Linked DNA regions of Homo sapiens: regions 1, 2 and 4 are each linked to region 3. The links are contacts of gene promoters, found by promoter capture Hi-C in blood cells and fetal thymus (Javierre and others, 2016). All regions are on one chromosome and are shown on one strand. Each heading gives the region's core, a stretch centred on a gene start or on the middle of the fragment in contact. The rest is flanking DNA. Distances are from core to core; before and after follow the strand shown.

Region 1 (4,862 bases), core at 690-3,189, 400 kb after region 3:
CCTGGGCAACAGAGCGAGACTCTGTCTCAAAAAAAAAAAAAAGAAAAAAATATATATATATGCATTTCTTCTTTTTTTATTTTGAGACAGTCTTGCTCTGTTGCCCAGGCTGGAGTGCAGTGGCGTGATCTGGGGTCACTACAACCTCCACCTTCCAGGTTCAAGAGATTCTTGTGCTTCAGCCTCCTGAGTAGCTGGGACTACAGGTGCCTGCTACCACGCCCGGCTAATTTTTGTGTTTTTAGTAGAGATGGGTTTTCACCATGTTGGCCAGGCTGATCTCGAAACACTGACCTCAAGTGATCCACCTGCCTAGGCCTTCCAAAGTGCTGGGATTACAAGTGTGAGCCACTGCGCCCAGCCCAAAATATAAAAATAAAATAAAATATATATAAAATATAAAAAAAATTCTTCTTTTTTTCTTTTGAGATGGAGTCTTGCTCTGTCGCCCAGGCTGGAGTACAATGGTGCCACCTCAGCTCACTGCAACCTCCACCTCCCAGGTCCACACGATCCTCCCACCTCAGACTCCCTAGTAGCTAGGACTAAGGTGCACACCACCACACCCAGCTAATTTTTGTATTTTTAGTAGACACAGGATTTCACCATGTTGGCCAGGCTGGTCTGGAACTCCTGACCACAGGAGATCCACCTGCGTATTTCTTCTTAAAGGCATCATATAAAATATATAAAAGGCATCATATAAAATCATATAACTGGCCAGGCACAGTGACTCATGTCTGTAATCCTAGCACTTTGGGAGGCCGAGGCGGGTGGATCACAAGGTCAGGAGTTCAAGACCAGCTTGGTCAAGATGGTGAAACCCCATCTCTACTAAACATACAAAAAAATTAGCCAGGTGTGGTGGCGGGCGCTTAGAATCCCAGCTACTCGGGAGACTGAGACAGACAATTGCTTGAACCCAGGAGGCAGAGGTTGCAGTGAGCCAAGATCGTGCCAGTGCATTCCAGCCTGGACGACAGTGAGACTGCATCTCAAAAAATAAGTAAATAAAATAAAATAAAATAATATAATATTAACTAGCTATAAAATGAACAAAGCCCCAACCACATGAGAATTTGACAATACCAACAAACTCGTACTATTAGAACCAAATTTTTTCCCCAAAATAACAGAAAATAAAACGCAACACCACTGTAATATTATTAAAGGGTGTTTGATCTCGGCAGTGAGCCAAGATCGCGCCATTGCACTCCAGCCTGGGCAACGAGCGAAACTCCATCTCTAAATAAATAAATAAATAAATAAATTATCAGAACTCCAAAGAATTGAAAATATTAGCTAGCTAGTCCTCTAGTTCTTTTTTTTTTTTTTTTTTTTTTTTTTGAGACAGGGTCTCCCTCTGTCGCCCAGGCTGGAGTATAGTGGTGCAATCTTAGCTCACTGCAACCTCTGCCTCCCAGGCTCAAGCCATCCTCCCACCTAGTAGCAGAGTCTACAGGCGCACACCACCAGGCCCAGTTAATTGTTTTTGGTATTTTTTTGTAGAGGCGTCTCCATATTGCCCAGGCTGGTCTTGAACTCCCGAACTCAAGGGATCTGCCAGCCTTGGCCTCCCAAAGTGCTGGGGTTATAGGTGTGAGCCACTGCACCCAGCGCAGATCCATTCTTTAAGCAAGCTAATACTTTATAACAGAGCCAGGCACGGTTGGCTCACGCCTGTAACCCCAGCACTCTGGGAGGCCCAGACAGGTGGATCACCTGAGGTCAGGAGTTCCAGACTAGCCTGGCCAATATAGTGAAACCCCGTCTCTACTAAAAATACAAAAATTAGCTGGGCATGGTGGCATGCACCTGTAATCCCAGCTACTCAGGAGTCTTAGGCAGGAGAATCACTTGAACCTGGGAGGAAGAAGTTGCAGTGAGCCTGGGCAACAGAGTGGACTCCGATAAAAAAAAAAAACACTTCATATGGTACTTTACTGTTCAACCCTCTAAGAAAGCTAAATAATTTATTCCGTGTTATTTTTAGTTTTTCAGAAATGAATATACTGGCTGATATATTTTTAAATCAGTTCTTAAGTTTCTACCATTGTTTATTTCTGGAAAGTTGCTAAAAGTAACATTTTTCCCCCTGTGAGGAAATACTGGCAATATACTTAATACTAAGAATTACTAATGCAGTTTACCAATATTTGTGTAATTGAGTGGAAAATAGACTGGAAAGATATTTGCAAATGTTAATCATGGTTAATGCCTATGTGGTAGAATTTGAATTTTTTAAAAAAATTTTATTCCTGGCTGGGAGCAATGGCGCATGCCTGTAATCACAGTACTTTGGGAGGCTGAGGCCAGTGGATCACCTGAGGTCAGGAGTTCGAGACCAGCCTGGCCAACATGGTGAAACCCCGTCTCTACTAAAAATACAAAAATTAGGGCCGGGCGCGGTGGCTCACGCCTGTAATCCCAACACTTTGGGAGGCCAAGGTGGATAGAACACAAGGTCAAGAGTTTGAGACCAGCCTGGCCAATATGGGGAAACCCCGTCTCTAATAAGAATACAAAAATTAAGGCCGGGCACAGTGATTCACACCTGTAATCCCAGCTACTCGGGCGGCTGAGGCAGGAGAACTGCTTGAACCCAGGAGGCAGAGGTGGCAGTGAGCCAAGATCACACCACTGCACTGCAGCCTGGGCAACAGAGCAAGACTCTGTCTCTAAAAAAAAAAAAAAATTATCTGGGCAGGGTGGCGTGTACCTCTAATCCCAGCTACTTGGGAGGCTTAGGCAGGAGAATCGCTTGAACCCGGGAGGCAGAGGTTGCAGTGAGCTGAGATCATGCCACTGCACTCCAGCCTGGGTGACAGAGCAAGACTCCATCTCGAAAAAAAAAAAGAATACAAGTGCCTGGCACGGTGGCTCACACCTGTAATCCCAGCACTTTGGGAGGCCGAGACGAGCGGATCATGAGGTCAGGAGACAGAGACCATCCTGGCTAACACGGTGAAACCCCGTCTCTACTAAAAATACAAAAAATTAGCCGGGCTTGGTGGCGAGTTCCTGTAGTCTCAGCTACTCAGGAGGGTGAGGCAGGAGAATTGCTTGAACCTGGGAGGTGGAGGTTGCCATGAGCCGAGATCGCGCCACTGCACTCCAGCCTGGGCAACAGAGTAAGACTCCATCTCAAACAAAAAAAAAAATTAGCCGGGCATGGTGGTGGCCACCTGTGATCACAGCTACTTGGGAGGCTAAGGCAGGAGAATCACTTGAACCCGGCAGGCAGAGGTTGCAGTGAGCCGAGATCAAGCTACTGCACTCCAGCCTGGGCAAAAGAGTAAGACTCCATCAAAAAAAAAATTATTCCTCTATATTTTCTAAGTTTTTCTTTGGTTAACAGGTATTACTTTTATTTTATTATTCTTTGAGATCGGGTTGCTCTGTTTCCCAGGCTGGAGTGCAGTGGTGTGATCACCTTACTGCAGCCTCAACCTCCTGGGCTTAAGCAATCCTCCAGCCTTAGCCTCCTGAGTAGCTGGGACCACAGGCCCATGCCACCACACCCGGCTTTTTTTTTTTTGAGACCAGGTCTCACTCTGTCACCCAGGCTGGAGTACAGTGGTGCAATCTTGGCTCACTGCAATCTCCGCCTCCTGGGTTCAAGGGATTCTCCTGCCTCAGCCTCCTAAGTAGCTGGGACTACAGGCGCACACCACCACACCCAGCTAATTTTTGTATTTTTAGTAGAGACGGGGTTTCGCCATGTTGGCCAGGATGGTCTCAATCTCCTGACCTTGTGATCCTCCCGCCTCGGCCTCCCAAAGTGCTGGGATTACAGGCGTGAGCCACTGGGTGCGGCCCCCTAAGTTTTTGTCTTTTTTAAAAGAGATGGTGTCTGACCATATTGCCCAGGCTGGTCTGAAACTCCTGGTCTCAAGCAATCCTCCAGACTCAGCCTCCCAAAGTGCTGGGATTATAGAAGTGAGCCACCAAGCCCTGTCAGGTATTGCTTTTATAATCTGAAATTAAAAAGTTATAATAAAATGACTTGGGCCGCTCTCGGTGGCCCACACCTGTAATCCTAGCACTTTGGGAGGCGAAGGCAGGTGGATCACCTGAGGTAGGGAGTTCAAGACCAGCCTGACCAACATGGAGAAACTCCATCTCTACTAAAAATATAAAATTAGCCAGGCCTAGTGGTGCATGCCTATAATCCCAGCTACTCAGTAGGCTGAGGCAGGAGAATCGCTTGAACTTCGGAGGCAGAGATTGCAGTGAGCCAAAATTGCACCATTGTACTCTAGCCTAGGCAAGAAGAGCAAAACTGCGTCTCAAAACAATAAAAAATAAAATAAATGACTTTTGGAAGTCAGCATCTGGGTCACTTTAGCTAAGGGTTCCCCTGAAATGTTGATAGTTAACTGCATTAAATTACATATATATTAACAAATCCCACATGAACAAAATGTTATTACTCTCTATGTTAACTCAGATATTTTATTTAACTTTTTTTTTCTTTTTGAGAGAGTGTCATTCTTTCACTCCTGCTAGAGTGCAGGGGTAGGATCATAGCTCACTGCAACCTCAAACTCCTGGGCTCAAGGGATCCTCCCCCTCCAACCACCGGACTACAGGCGAATGCCATGGTGCCAGGCCCTCACTCAACCTTTTAAGACCCTACTGGTAATCTCCATTATTAAAAAGCTTAACTGTTTCACCATAAGTGATAATCACATTAGCCAAAACACCCAGGCCTAGGAGATTGTAACTTCTGTAACATCAAGACACAAGCAGAACGTAAATAACGCAAATCAAAACTTCTTTTTTCTTTTTTTGACGGAGTCTCCCCCCCGTCGCCCTGTCTGGCGTACAGCGTCGCGATCTCGGCTCCCTGCAACCTCCCC
Region 2 (4,861 bases), core at 1,452-3,951, 410 kb after region 3:
GGGCCCTGGATATATTTTAACAGTAAATCCAAGCAGACTTTCTGGTAGGTTGAACCTGGGATTGATAAAAAGAGGAGGCAAGGATGAGCCAAAACATTTTTTGACCTGGGCAACTAAAAGAGTTGTAATGAAGGAGGACTGGATAGAGCAGTTCTGCAGGGGAAGAGCAGAAGTTCAGTTTGGGCATGTTCAATTTGAGGTGTTTATTAGATATCAAAGGGAGACGCTGGTGGGCTATTGGATATATGGGTCTTGATTTAGGAGGAAGTTCTGGAGATGTATATTTTTATATATGCCCTTTTTGTATATTATGTATATTTGTGTGTGAGAGAGTTATCCTATATATAGCTAGCATTTAAAAGCCTCAAACCGGATGAGATCACTAACATAAATATAGAAGGAAATAGGATAAAGGAAGCCCTGAAGCACTCCACTGTTAAAAGGTCTGAGAAGAAGGTTTGCAAAGCAGGATGAGAAGGAACAACCAGTTAGGTCGGAGGATAACCAGGAAAGGGTGGTGTCCAGGAAGTCAAGAAAGTGGAGCAGGTGGCCTGGCAGGGTGGCTCACACCTGTAATCCCAGCACTGTGGGAAGCCGAGGCAGGCATATCACTTGAGGTCAGGAGTTCGAGACCAGCTGGCCAATGTGATGAAACCCTAACTCTACTAAAAAAACACAAAAATTGGCCAGGTGTGATGGCTCATGCCTGTAATCCCGGCACTTTTGGAGGCTCAGGCGGGCAGATCACCTGAGGCTGGGAGTTCGAGACCAGCCTGACCAACATGGAGAAACCCCTCTCTACTGAAAATACAAAATTAGCTGGTTGTGGTGGCGCATGCCTGTAATCCCAGCTACTTGGGAGGCTGAGGCAGGAGAATCGCTTGAACCTGGAAGGCAGAGGTTGCGGTGAGCTGAGATTGTGCCATTGCACTCCAGCCTGTGCAACAAGAGTGAAACTCCATCTCAAAAAAAAAAAAAAAAAAATTAGCTCGGCTTGGGCAGGGCTCGGTGGCTAACGCCTGTAATCCCAGCACTTTGGGAGGCCGAGGCGGGCAGATCACGAGGTCAAGAGTTCGAGACCAGCCTGACTAACATAGTGAAACCCCGTCTCTAGTAAAAATACAAAAATTAGCCGGGAATGGTGACGCACAGGAATGCTGGCTCGACAGGCTGAAGCAGGAGAATTGCTTGAACCCGGGAGGCGGAGGTTGCAGTGAGCCGAGATCGCACCACTTCACTCCAGCCTGGATGACAGAGTAAGACTCGGTCTCAAAAAAAAAAAAAAAAAAAAGTGAAGGGAATGGTCAACTATGAAATGCTGCTGAGAGATTAAGCTGAGGCATGAAAATTGAGTGTTGTATGAATAAGTGGAAGTCATGGGTGACCTTGACACAAGCTGTCTGGGTGGAGTAGGAGGCAAAAGCTTGATTGGAATGGATTGAAGAAAAAAAAAAAAAAAACAGTAAGTATGACCTTTGGAAAAGTCTGACAGTGAGGCTTAGAGGGGAAGATGCCAGAGACTGTGATGTTGGAAAGTACCTTCTGTTTTAGGAAGTTCCTGGGTCAGTGCAGCAAGAGGGAACTCAAAACCTTAGGGCTTCTGGAGGAATTGTTACACTCCCAGGATGTGGTCTCCTTCTACCCTCATATCTGCTCCATGATAACATGAATAATAAATTATTTCTTGGCTGGGAGAACTCCAGCTCAAAAGATCCTGCTGCCTCTGTCTCCCAAAGTACTAGGATTACAGGCGTGAGCCACTGTGCCCGGCTGTATTTTTCTTTACTTTTTTTTTTTTTTTTTGAGACAGAGTCACGCTCTGTCACCCAGGCTGGAGTGCAGTGGCCTGATCTCTGCTCACTGCAACCTCTGCCTCCCAGGTTCAAGTGGTTCCCCTGCCTCAGCCTCCTGAGTAGCTGGGATTACAGGCATGTGCCACCACACCCGCTTAATTGTTGTATTTTTAGTAGAGACGGGGTTTCACCATGTTGTCCAGGCTGGTCTCGAATTCCTGACCTCATGACCCACCTGCCTTGGCCTTCCAAAGTGCTGGGATTACAGGCGTGAGCCACCGCACCCAGCCATAATTTTCTTTTTAAAAGACTTTCTTCCCCCATATTGGACCCTGCTCTAGTTCTACCACATCCCAGTGAACAACAGTGAAATAAAAAGATTGTCTACGTGCTTAATTTGAAAACGTGGGTTGGGCACGGTGGCTCACACCTGTAATCCCAGCACTTTGGGAGGCCGAGATGGGTGGATTGCCTGAGGTCAGGAGTTCAAGACCAGCTTGGCCAACCCGGTGAAACCCCATCTCTAATAAAATACAAATATTAAGGTTGGTCGCGGTGGCTCATGCCTGTAATCCTAGCACTTTGGGAGGCTGAGGCAGGCAGATCACCTGAGGTCTGGAATTCAAGACTAGCCTGACCAACATGGAGAAACCCCGTCTCTACTAAAAATACAAAATTAGCTGGGCGTGGTAGCTCATGCCTGTAATCCCAGCTACTCGTGGGGCTAAGGCAGGAGAATCACTTGAACCCAGGAGGTGGAGGTTGCAGTGAGCTGAAATCGTGCCACTGCACTCCAGCCTGGGTGACAGAGTGAGACTCCGTCTCAAAAAAAAAAGAAAAAAAGGAAAACAGATATATCACTTTGGGGTCAAGCTCCACCTTCAGAATTTCATAAATTTTTTTTTTTTGAGACGGAGTCTTCCTCTGTCACCCAGGCTGGAGTGCAGTGGTGCAATCTCGGCTTATTATAGCTGCAGCCTCCCAGGTTCAAGCAATCTTCTGCCTCAGCCTCCCAAGTAGCTGGGATTACAGGCATGCGCCACCACAGGCGGCTAATTTTTTTTTTTTTTTTTTGAGACACAGTCTAGCTCTGTCACCAGGCTGGAGTGCAGTGGCGTGATCTCGGCCCACTGCCACCTCCACCTCCCAGGTTCAAGCGATTCTCCTGCCTCAGTCTTCTGAGTAGCTGGGATTACCAGCACGTGCCACTGCGCCCAAGTAATTTTTGTATTTTTAGTAGAGACAGGGTTTCACCATGTCGGCCAAGATGGTCTCTATCTCCTGACCTCGTGATCCGCCCACCTCAGCCTCCAAAGTGCTGGGATTATAGGCGTGAGCCACCGCGTCCAGCCTCATTTTTGTGTTTTTTAGTAGAGAAGGGGTTTTGCCATGTTGGCCAGGCTGGTCTCGAGCTTCTGACCTCCAGTGATCTGCCTGCCTCGGGCTTCCAAAGTGCTGGAATTAGAGGCATGAGCCACCCAACCCAGCTCACCTTCAGAATTCTATGTACTGATAAATATAATCAAAAGTCAAGTCCAGGCTCGGTGGCTTACCCCTGTAATCCCAGCACTTTGGGAGGCCAAGGCAGGTGGATAACCTGAGGTCAGGAGTTCAGGGCCAGCCTGGCCAACATAGTGAAACCCCATCTCTACTAAAAACACAAAAAATTTCCTGGGTATGGTGGCACGCCCCTGTAATCCCAGCTGCTCCGGAGGCTAAGGCAGGAGAATTGCTTGAACCCAGGAGGCAGAGGTTGCAATGAACAGAGACCACACCATTGCACTCCAGCTTGGAAAACAAAAGTGAAACTCCCACTCAAAAAAAAAAAAAAAAAAAAAAACAAGTCAAAATGTGTATTTTCTTTTTTTAATCATCCGGCTCAGCCTCCTGAGTAGCTGGGACTACAGGTGATGCCACTACACCCGGCTAATATTTTGTATTTTTGATAGAGATGGGGCTTCTCCATGTTGCCCAGGCTGGTCTCCAACTTCTGAGATCAGATGATCCACTCACCTGGGCCTCCCAAAGTGCTAGGATTACAGGCGTGAGTCACTGTGCTTGGCCAATTTGTATTTTCAATGTATTACTTTATCATTCTTTATTGGAACATGTGATTAAATACAGATATAAAGTATCATGTATATTTTATCCTGCAACATTTATGCCTAATAGCTATTGAAGCTTTTTTTTTTTTTTTTTTTTTTGAGATGGAGTTTCACTCTTGTTGACCAGGCAGGAGTGCAATGGCACGATCTCTGCTAACTGAAACCTCCACCTCCAGGATTCAAGCAATTCTCCTGCCTCAGCTTCCTGAATAGCTGGGATTACAGGCATGCGCCATCACGCTGGGCTAATTTTGTATTTTTAGTAGAGATGGGGTTTCTCCATGTTGGTCAGGCTGGTCTCGAACTCCTGACCTCAGGTGATCCCCCTGCCTCAGCCTCCCAAAGTGTAGGGATTACAGATGTGAGCCACCGTGCCCAGCCAACAATTTTTTTTTTTTTTTTTTTTTTGAGATGGAGTCTTGTCACTCTGTCGCCCAGGCCGGAGGGTGATGGTGTGATCTTGGCTCACTGCAGCCTCAACCTCTAGGGTTCAAGCCATTCTCCTGCCTCAGCCTCCCAAGTAGCTTGGACTATAAGCATGTGCCACCACACCCAGCTAATTTTTGTATTTTTGGTAGAGGTGGGGTTTCACCATGTTGGCCAGGCTGGTCTGGAACTCCTGACCTCAGGTGATCTGCCCGCCTTGGCCTCCTAAAGTGCTGGAATTACTGGCGTGAGCCACTGCGCCCAGCCCACAATTTTTTATTTTTTGATATTTGTCACTTTGGATGAAGCCTAGCAGTAGTATATGGTTAAGTGTACATTTTCTAATTATTTATGAAATGTTGCTCTCCAGCTTATGTAGAATAAGGTCTTCACCTGTTTTTCCTTTGTCCTAGCACACACTATACTTCTGTCATTTACATTGATTTATACTGGTAGTGATTGAGGGATTGGATTCAATTTTGGGGCATTGGGAGGCAGATGTTGCAGTGAGCTAAGATCACACCACTGCACTCCAGC
Region 3 (4,367 bases), core at 625-3,124:
AGGCGTGAGCCACCGCACATGGCCCCAAGAGGACTTTACATCTTCTCTGGGTTGCAGATTAACAGGCACGTTCATTCTGCCAAGTTGCTTCATTTTCTCACACGCTCACTGAGCCCTCCACGAGCCAAAGATGGGTGGATGTGAAGTCTGGAAATCCAGAAATAATTCAGATCAGAGCCCTGCCACTGAGTGACTCCTGGCCCATGGAGAGAGCTCTGGACAGCTGTGAATCTCCCTGACTGGGCAGATGTGACAGCTGCAGGAATGGGAACCATGTGACCTGGGAGTATGGGCAAAGGATTCCACCTGCAGAATCCTGTAGGAATGGTTATTCATCTGGTTTTTCTGCCTAGCCACAGCGTGAGCAAGTTGAGAGAAAGCACCTTGTCTTACACATCCTCATCCCCTCTCTTAGACATAATGGGCCTTAAAAATCTGTGAGTTCGTAGTCCTCTGGCTGCTTTCTGCTTCCCTAGGAACAGCCCTCCTAGTGGCTAGGGGCAAAGTTTTAAAAACACAAAACCCAAACTGGCAGAACAGATAAGTACTTTAGAGTCAGGTAAGTGTGGGTTCTTTTTTTTTTTTTTTTTTTTTTTTTGACAGGGCCTAGCTCTGTCACTCAGGCTGAAGTGCAGTGGCATGATCTCGGCTCACTGCAACCTCCATTTCCCGGGCTCAAGCAATCCTCTCATCTCAGCCTCCAAGTAGCTGGGACTACAGGCGTGCACTACTGTGCCCGGCTAATTTTTGTATTTTTTTTTTTGTAGAGGCAGGGTCTTACTATGTTGCCCAGGTTGGTCTCAAACTCCTGAGCTTAAGCAATCTGCCCGCCTCAGCTTCCCAAAGTGCTGGGATTACAGGCGTGAGCCACCACACCCAGCCAGCTGTGGGTTCTGAGTCGGTTTCACACTGACTAGCTGTGCGGTGTGACCTCAGACAAGTCACGTTATGTTTCTGAGAGTCTTCGTCAGTACAAGAGGGTAATACTATTTACACAGGTTTGTTTATAGAATTAAATCAGGTGACCCCTGTAAAGTCCCCACTGTCTGGCACTTGGGTGGCCTTAGGTAAAGCTTAACTCCTAAATTATTCCTTTCAAAACAGTGATTTGCCCTACTTGAAGGCATTGCGGAAAGATAATGGTAAAAATTAAATGTAATAGACAAACTCTCAGTAATGACCCACCTGCACTCTTTCCAACCAGTGGGCATTTACTGAGCACCCACCTTCTGGGTAACAGGCCTGGTGTCCAGTGCTGGAACGGTGGAGAGGAGCTCAGAGTTTCAGAGCTGAAAAGTCAGCTCCAGGAGAGCAGGGACTTCTTGTTGGCCACTGTATTCCCAGCTAGGTGCTCAGTATTTGTTGAATGAATGAATGAATGAAAAATACAATCCAGCGGGCCTCTGACTCATTTTTTAAAACTTGAGCCAAGTCCCTTGACCTCTCTGAGCTGGTGTGTGTCCCCATCAGTGAAGCCAGAGATGTTTAAGTCATCTAGAGGTCCTGCCAAGCAGGATTAATAGAGCAATAATATTAATAATAGCAACAATCATAACTAAACATATGGAGCACTGCTATGGAGGGAATAACATGTTACGTCCACGTTATAGAAGAGGAAACTGAGACACAGAGAAGCATGAAAGGCTCCTGGAGGGGGGGTTTCATGATGTTTTGGAAGAAAGACTAGGGATCGGACGGAGTCATAGAGAAGAGGATCCACAACCCAGAGGAAAAGGCCTAGTCCAGAGCCACCGCGCGGCGCAGGCTGCGGACGTTGTAGGAGGGACGAACGCCTCCCGGAACCCGCCCAACCCAACCTCCGGCGTCTCCATGGCAACAACCTCCGCACATGCGCCGCGCGCACCTGCGCCGGAGCTGCCAGCACGCGCAGAAGGCGGACGCAGGCGGGGCGGAAGTGGGCCCGGCGGGCTGGGGCGGCGGGAGTGCGGGTGGGCGTTTAAAGGGGCCTTCGGCACCCAGGTCGGTTCGCCGCCGGGACTGCTGACGGGGAGGGCTAGGTAGCCCTGGGAGTCGGGATCTAGAAGGTAGAGGAGAAGCGGGGCTGTCTGACCCCCGGAGGTGACAAGGGGAGAGGGGCTGTGTGAATACCCTCCATGGGCAGTAATGGGATGACTATCCCCAGGGAGCATTGCGAAGGAGAGAGGCGGCTGAGGGACTGCACTTTCTGGGGCCCCCCGGGAGAGTCAGAGGGCAGTTAAGAGGGATCACAGGCCCGGCTTGGTACTGTCACTCCCCTTCCCACTCCCTGCTCTCAGCATTCTGTCACCTCCCTACCCCGTCGCGGTGCCCAGCCATGGCCAGACCTCCCGTGCCCGGTTCGGTGGTTGTCCCAAACTGGCACGAGAGTGCCGAGGGCAAGGAGTACCTGGCTTGCATTCTGCGCAAGAACCGCCGGCGGGTGTTTGGTAAGTGCCTCCCCCTTTCCTCTAGCCCGCCACTTGTCTTTCCCTGGGGAGAAGAGTGTCACCTGTTGCTCCCTGAGGAGAGCAGAGAGGCAGGGCAGTGAGGGCCTGCTCCACTGCAGTCTTCAGCAGTCTTCAGCCTGGGGGACTGAAAGCCCTAGCTCTGGGACCCCCACACCTAAATCTCCTTAGAGCTAATTCCATCGTCAGAGCCAGGAACATGGAAACAGCAGAAACCTTGCCAGCAACCACTGTCACCAGAGATGCAGTTGATTGAGCACTCCCCTGGTGCCAGGCCCTCTGTTGGGCACGTTACACAGTGCACGCCCATTTAACCTCTCAACAGCACATGGTACAGACTTGGCTAAGATCACACCCCAATAAATAGAGGTGAGCCTCTTCCATGTCCTGCTGTCTCTGGGATGAGACGCTGGTGTTCCCCATGGTGAAACTGACTCACCCAGGCAGGGCCCAGCTGTCAGGCCGGCAGAGGTGCCTGGAATCAGCTGTGGAGCCCAGCTCTGGCCAGGAGAAGCAAGGTGCCAGAAGACTTAAGACCAGAGAGTGAGATAGCTAGAACCAAAATTTGTGAATAAGTCAACTGTTTGTTTGTTTTTTTAAAAGAAATTATATTAAATTCAAAAAATGACCCTCTAGAAGGCTGGGCGCAGTGGCCTGTAATCCCAGCACTTTGGGAGGCCGAGGTGGGCAAATCACCTGAGGTCAGGAGTTCAAGACCAGCCTGGCCAACATGGCGAAACCCCATCTTTACTAAAAATACAAAAATTAGCCGGACGTGGTGGCGGGCACCTGTAATCCCAGCTACTTGGGAGGCTGAGGCAGGAGAATCGCTTGAACACAGAAGGCAGAGGTTGCAGCAACCCTAGATCGAGCCATTGCATTCCATCCTGGGTGACAAGAGTGAAACTCCGTCTCAAAAAAAAAAAAAAAAAAAAGACCCTCTAATATGGCCACTGTCCCTCTAATCCCATGATGGCTGGCAACACTGTATTTGGGGTCACACATACCCAGGCAAGTGACCCAGGCTCCACCACTGCTAGCTGTATGGCTGGGAATAAGTGAACTCTAGCCTCAAGTCCCACCTCTGTAAAATGGGGATAATCACAGTATTTACCCCATAGAGTTACTGGGGAAATTAATAAGGAGGGTGTTTGTAACATACCAAGCAGGTTCTGGCATGCAGTGGGTGTTCACTGAAGGTTGGCTGTTATTGTATTTATTTTGCATTTAGTTGTGTTGAGTGGAAGAGAATTGAGTGAAGGTTGAGCTGATTTTCTGGGAACATCATAGAATCCACTGACCATATTATCTATGCCACAGATAGGATTAAGCAGCCATAACTTAGAGGAATGGCAGTGATGGCTTTTAATTTTTGTGTTTTTACTTTAACTGCAGACATTTGGGTTTTTTTTTAACAGCTGGGTTTATGCACCTGAATGTATCATTCAGTGGTTGTCATGCAGGCCCCACAACAAACGCTGAGAGCAGCTAGTAAATAAATATCAACAGACTGACTATAATGCTTAGGCTAGTCTCTTTGTATCCCAGACTTCTGTAAAATTAGGTTGAGTATTAAGAGCCACAGATGAGGCCGGGCACGGTGGCTCACGCCTGTAATCCCAGCACTTTGGGAGGCTGAGGCAGGCAGATCACCTGAGGTTGGGAGTTCGAGACCAGCCTGACCAACATGGAGAAACCCCATCTCTAAAAATACAAAATTAGCCAGGCATGGTGGCGCATGCCTATAATCCCAGCTACTCGGGAGGCTGAGGCAGGAGAATCACTTGAACCCGGGAGGCGGAAGTTGCAGTGAGATCACACCATTGCACTCCAGCCTGGGCAACAAAAGCGAAACTCCGTCTCAAAAAAAAACAAAAAAGAACCACAGATGGTTGGTTAGCCCTGAAGAAGCCATTAGAAATG
Region 4 (4,605 bases), core at 1,253-3,752, 280 kb after region 3:
ATCTTTTTTCTTTTTTTGAGACGGGGTCTCACTCTGTTGCCCAGGCTGGAGTGCAGTGGTGCAATCACTGCTCACTGCAGCGTTGACCTTGTGGGCTTAAGTGATCCTCCCGCCTCTGCCTCCCAAGTAGCTGGGACCACAGGCATGCACCAGCACGCCTGGCTAATTTTTGTATTTTTTTCTGGAGATGGGGTCTCACCATGTTGCCCAGGCTGGAGCATGTATTACATCTTAACACTACAAGGGACCTTGGCAGTTACCTAATCCTAATGAGGATACAAACCCAGAAAAAGTCAGTCACACTTGAAGAGCCTGTGCACACATGGAAGTCCAGCTACATCCATTTCCAGTTCTTACTTAACCTGCTTTTTTCTTTTGGCTTGAATTCTTGATCTTCAAGAGCATCATGGGCCATCCGGCCCTTCCTTTGTGATTGTTCTTCTTCCTCAGTGAGAGCCTCTTTGCTCCTGCAGTCCTTGTGTCCTTTGTAGAAAGAAGGTGGCGGTTACCATCAAGTATTAAGCATTTATGCCTTTGATTCTGATTCCTGTCGAGTGGAGTAAGCACTGCAGTGTGGGGGGCCTTTTCCTGGTCTTTTTTCAGGTTGAAACTTGATGGGTGCCCTGATTACTGATGAGATTTTTACATCCGTTTTCAGAAGATAGGATAAGGATGACAGCATTGGGCTCTCTTCTTTCTATATAGTTTTTTTCTTTTTTAAAAAATTAAGAACAAGTTCAAGCCAAATGTTTTCTATAATTTATCAGCCTTGCTGGCTTGGGTTTATATGTAATGATAGAATGATGATGGCCAGCAGTAGCTTTATGAAGAAGAAACTTTTGTCATCATCTCCATTTTACAGAAGAGGAATTGAGGTGCAGAGATTGTGCCTGCAGAGATTGTGCAGAGTTAAGTGCCTGCCTGAGGCACTTAACTAGCTTCGGCTGGATTTGGAGGTAGGAGTGTTTTAACTGGGTCCTGGGAGCAGCAAGCCCCCCACAGTTGCGTGTTGAATTGCGTGTGCATGTGTCCCTGGGAGAAGGACTTCAGTGTCGTCGCAGTGTCAGGGGGCTTCCTCTGTTTGAGCACGAGGACACCAGCTGTGGTGCTCGGGGCGTCCCCTCAAGGAATTTCTGCTCATATTGTTTTCCTGAGTGATACATTGATTCTCTGTGCACATTACCACAATTTTCCATTTCCCTCATGAGAAATTTTTTCCTTTGAGAAGTTTTCAGTCACTAGGTCTTGTAGAAAATGTCTTAAAGATTTTATGATAGATAGAAATAAAGGACTTAGGTCTCTGACTTTGCAGGCATTTATTTTCTTTCTTTCTTTTCTGTCTTTTTTATTTTTATTTTTTGACAGAGTTTTGCTCTGTTGCCTATGCTGGAGTGCAGTGGTGTGATCATAGCTTGCTGCAGCCTCAAAACTCCTGGGCTTAAGTGATCCTCCCACCTCAGCCTCCCAGATAGCTGGGACCTCCCTCCCTCCCTTCCTCTCCTCCCTCTCCTCCCTCCTTCCCTCTGTCTACTCTCTCCCTCTCCTCCTTCTCTTCCCTGTTGCTTCCTCCTTTCCTCCCTCCCTCTCCTCCCTCCCTTCCTCCCTCCCTCCCTCCCTCCCTCTCCTCCCTCTTCCTTCCCTTCCCTCCTCTTTTTCTCTCCATTGTTCTTTAGCTTTCTCAGTTTTAATTTTTTAATAGATAGTGTTTACAAGTGGTGAAACAGCACAGAAAGGATATATAGTGAAAAGTTGAGCTCCTTCCCCACTTCCCCTGCTCCCCTGAGGGGCTTCTCTTTACCAGTTTTGTGTATACCCTACAGAAATGTGGACGTTGTCTTTTAAAAATAAGTAAAATGTGTACATTCTTAGCCTGGGCTCATAGTTTTGGACAAATGGCATGGCCCACCTTCCACTGGGAAGGGTCAGGTACTAAATTTTAAGAGACTTTGAGCTACTCCAAGAAGAGGTGCTTAAAACTTTTAGAGGATTTAATAGTATTTAGTGGGAAGGCCACTGGTTCAGGCTGCCAGAAAGAATCATGTAAGTGTGTGTTGGATTCTTGGCACCAGCTAAACCCTTCTAGGGCCACCTGGGGGTGACATCATCCCATTTTTCCTATCCCAAGGGTCCAGCCCAGTGGGACTTCATCTCCCCCTTTCAAGTCCCAGTGTGACTCCTGACTGCCAAGGTTGTCACTGAGGCCTGGTGTGGTGGTCCCAGCCCAAGTGCCTAGCCCCAGCCTGGCCCTCCAGCTGTGTTTCCCATCACTTTGTCCCCTCCCTCCTGTGTGCTGGGGCATGATCCCCCTTCTCCACCTGGCCCCTCAGCCATCATTGCTTATGCTGTCCCCTGCCCAAAGGTCTTTCTTGCCTTCGTCTGTCTTTAGGTGTGGTCACGTCGTCCCAGGCTGGCGCTTCGGCAGCCCCCATTCAGCACTCATCACACTGTCCTTCTGCCCCAGTGAAGGTCAAGGGGCTGGGGCTCAGACCCAGCCTTATCCCAGGGCCCCTGGCACTTTGCAGTGGACTTTGAAGTAAACCTCCACTCCACCATCCCCTCAGCCCACCAGTTATGGAGATTGGACCCCCGAATCCCTCTATATTGAAATTGAGTTCCCAGGCCTTCTGCCCTGAGTTGCTCCATAACAAAGGCCTGACGGTGGAAGGCTGCAGCCAGAGAGAAGCAACACCTGTGTGTTTTTTTTTTTTTTTTTTTGGTCGTATTGGACCAGGCTGTGGCTCTGTTAGCTTCCGTCAGCCGCCTTCCCAAGGCTTTGGCCAGCTGCTGTCCTGTTTGACAGGGGCCCTGTGCTCCCCTGGTGCAGGGAGGTCACTTGGGATCATCTGGTTTGTTTTTGTTTTATTAGTTCATCATTTCCCTTTTGTTTTAACTGTGTTTCAGTCACAGAGCTGTGTTAGAGAAGTAATATCTAGTTCTACTTTTGCCAATATTTGGGCAACACTTCCTATCTGCTAGTTGTCTCATTGCACACTCGTATTTATGGTGGTTTTCCTATTTTACAGGTGAGCAATCTAAAACTCAGAGATGCTTGCCTGAGGTCACTGTGTTAAGTTTGGAGCTGGGATTCTGAGTCCATTGGTTTCTTCTCTTGTTTATCCAATACCTGCTTCCATGGATATCTTGTTCCACCTTGTGGCTTTAATTACCGTCTCTACAAGCAGACATCTCAGCTGTAATTGGCCAGAACAGAACTCTGATTCCCCCCACGGAGTCTCCTCCTGCCACTCCTCCTCCTCTCAGGAAGCGGCACCGCCACTGGGCCAGTGTCTCCGGGCACAGATCTTAGTGTCATCCTTGACTCCTTTCCTTCTGTCACAACGCACATCTGCTTGATCAGCTAATGGTGTTGGCTCTGCCAAAACATATTCCTAATATAACCTCTTCTCGCCTGTTTTCTACCTCCTTGGTGAGGCCACTGCTGTCTCTTCTCTACTGTAGTAGCCTAACTGGGGCCCCTACTAAGCCTCCTTGCGGTCTGTCTTTGCACTGCAGTCAGAGGGGCCTTTTAGGAACCTCACTCTTCTGCTCTTTTCTGTCACTCTTCGTCACTCCCAAGGCATCCCAGTGCACTTAGAAGAAATCCAAAGTCCGCTGTGTCCCTGAGACCCTGGGCGAGCTCAGCCCCTGCTGCTGTCATTCTCATGCACACCTGCTCCTCTCCAGATACACCGGCCCCTGTGCCACACACCTCCTCCTCTCCACACACACCGGCCCCTGTGCCACACACCTCCTCCTCTCCACACACACCGGCCCCTGTGCCAAAGTCATGCCCGCCTCAGGGTTTTTGCATCTGCTCTTCTCATGTCTGTGATGGTCCCTGGGCATACAGTGGCCTAGCTCCCTCTTAAACCTCATTCAGGTCTTTGCTTAAATGCCACCTCCTCTGAGGTCCCCCTTGCCTCCTTTATTTTTACTTTTTTTTTTTTTTTTTGAGATGGAGTCTCTCACTGTCACCCAGGCTGGAGTGCAGTGGCACGATCTTGGCTCACTGCAACCTCTGCCTCCCAGGTTCAAGCATTCTCCTGCCTCAGCCTCTTGAGTAGCTGGGATTACAGGCACCCACCACCATGCCCGGCTAATTTTTTATATTTTTAGTAGAGATGGGGTTTCACTATGTCGGCCAGGCTGGTCTTGAACTCCTGACCTCGTGATCCACCCGCCTCAGCGTCCCAAAGTGCTGGGATTACAGGCGTGAGCCACTGTGCCCGGCCGCCTCCTTTCTTAAATAGTAAATAGCCCCTGCCTCTCGATCTGCTCAGCTTGCTTTAGTTTCTCCACAGCACTTGGTAGCTGCCATTGTTTATTATACCCATTTATTACCTGTCTTCCCCACTCAGTTTGAAGTTCTAACATAGTACCTAGGACAAACACAAGGTAGACTCTCATTAGACATTTGTGAAATTCATTAGTCCTCTCTCTCTATGTATCTGTTTCCTAATTTATAGGCTGAGCACCCCTAAAGGGCAATGCAATAATTATGAGTAGATGAGCAGCTGTATCACCCCACTGATTTTCTCTATATTGGGGAAATTTCTCATCCATGTACATAGAATTGTTGCTTAAATGCCTTTGTGATTAATGGAA

The links. Contacts are between HindIII fragments. The CHiCAGO score rates a contact against its expected background, and 5 or more counts as called.
Region 1: a contact is called between a fragment that was not itself captured here and the fragment with the promoter of CPLANE2 in region 3, in 2 of 17 cell types (non-activated CD4 T cells and naive CD4 T cells). The highest score is 6.2, in non-activated CD4 T cells.
Region 2: a contact is called between a fragment that was not itself captured here and the fragment with the promoter of CPLANE2 in region 3, in 1 of 17 cell types (activated CD4 T cells). The highest score is 8.6, in activated CD4 T cells.
Region 4: a fragment that was not itself captured here is called in contact with the fragment with the promoter of CPLANE2 in region 3 in 1 of 17 cell types (fetal thymus); the score reaches 5.6 in fetal thymus.

The regions. Positions count from the first base shown.
Region 1 is chr1:15,838,642-15,843,503 of GRCh38, reverse strand. The region is part of intron 1 of SPEN-AS1 (SPEN antisense RNA 1); the gene reads left to right. Among named protein-coding and RNA genes, the nearest start is that of SPEN, 6.6 kb to the left of the region's middle. The HindIII fragment of the contact is 5,451 bases long and covers 1-4,664 here.
Region 2 is chr1:15,822,615-15,827,475 of GRCh38, reverse strand. No RefSeq gene overlaps it. Among named protein-coding and RNA genes, the nearest start is that of UQCRHL, 17 kb to the right of the region's middle. The HindIII fragment of the contact is 2,551 bases long and covers 1,426-3,976 here.
Region 3 is chr1:16,234,690-16,239,056 of GRCh38, reverse strand. CPLANE2 (ciliogenesis and planar polarity effector complex subunit 2) reads left to right here and starts at 1,874. Exons shown (of 5, transcript NM_030907.4): 1 at 1,874-2,426. The coding sequence starts at 2,315. RefSeq lists a silencer at 1,817-1,996 and an enhancer at 1,837-2,381. The HindIII fragment of the contact is 3,895 bases long and covers 1,076-4,367 here.
Region 4 is chr1:15,956,526-15,961,130 of GRCh38, reverse strand. The region is part of intron 2 of ZBTB17 (zinc finger and BTB domain containing 17); the gene reads left to right. LOC124903855 (a long non-coding RNA gene) reads right to left here. Exons shown (of 3, transcript XR_007065486.1): 3 at 1-4,605. Among named protein-coding and RNA genes, the nearest start is that of ZBTB17, 17 kb to the left of the region's middle. The HindIII fragment of the contact is 9,724 bases long and covers 1-4,605 here.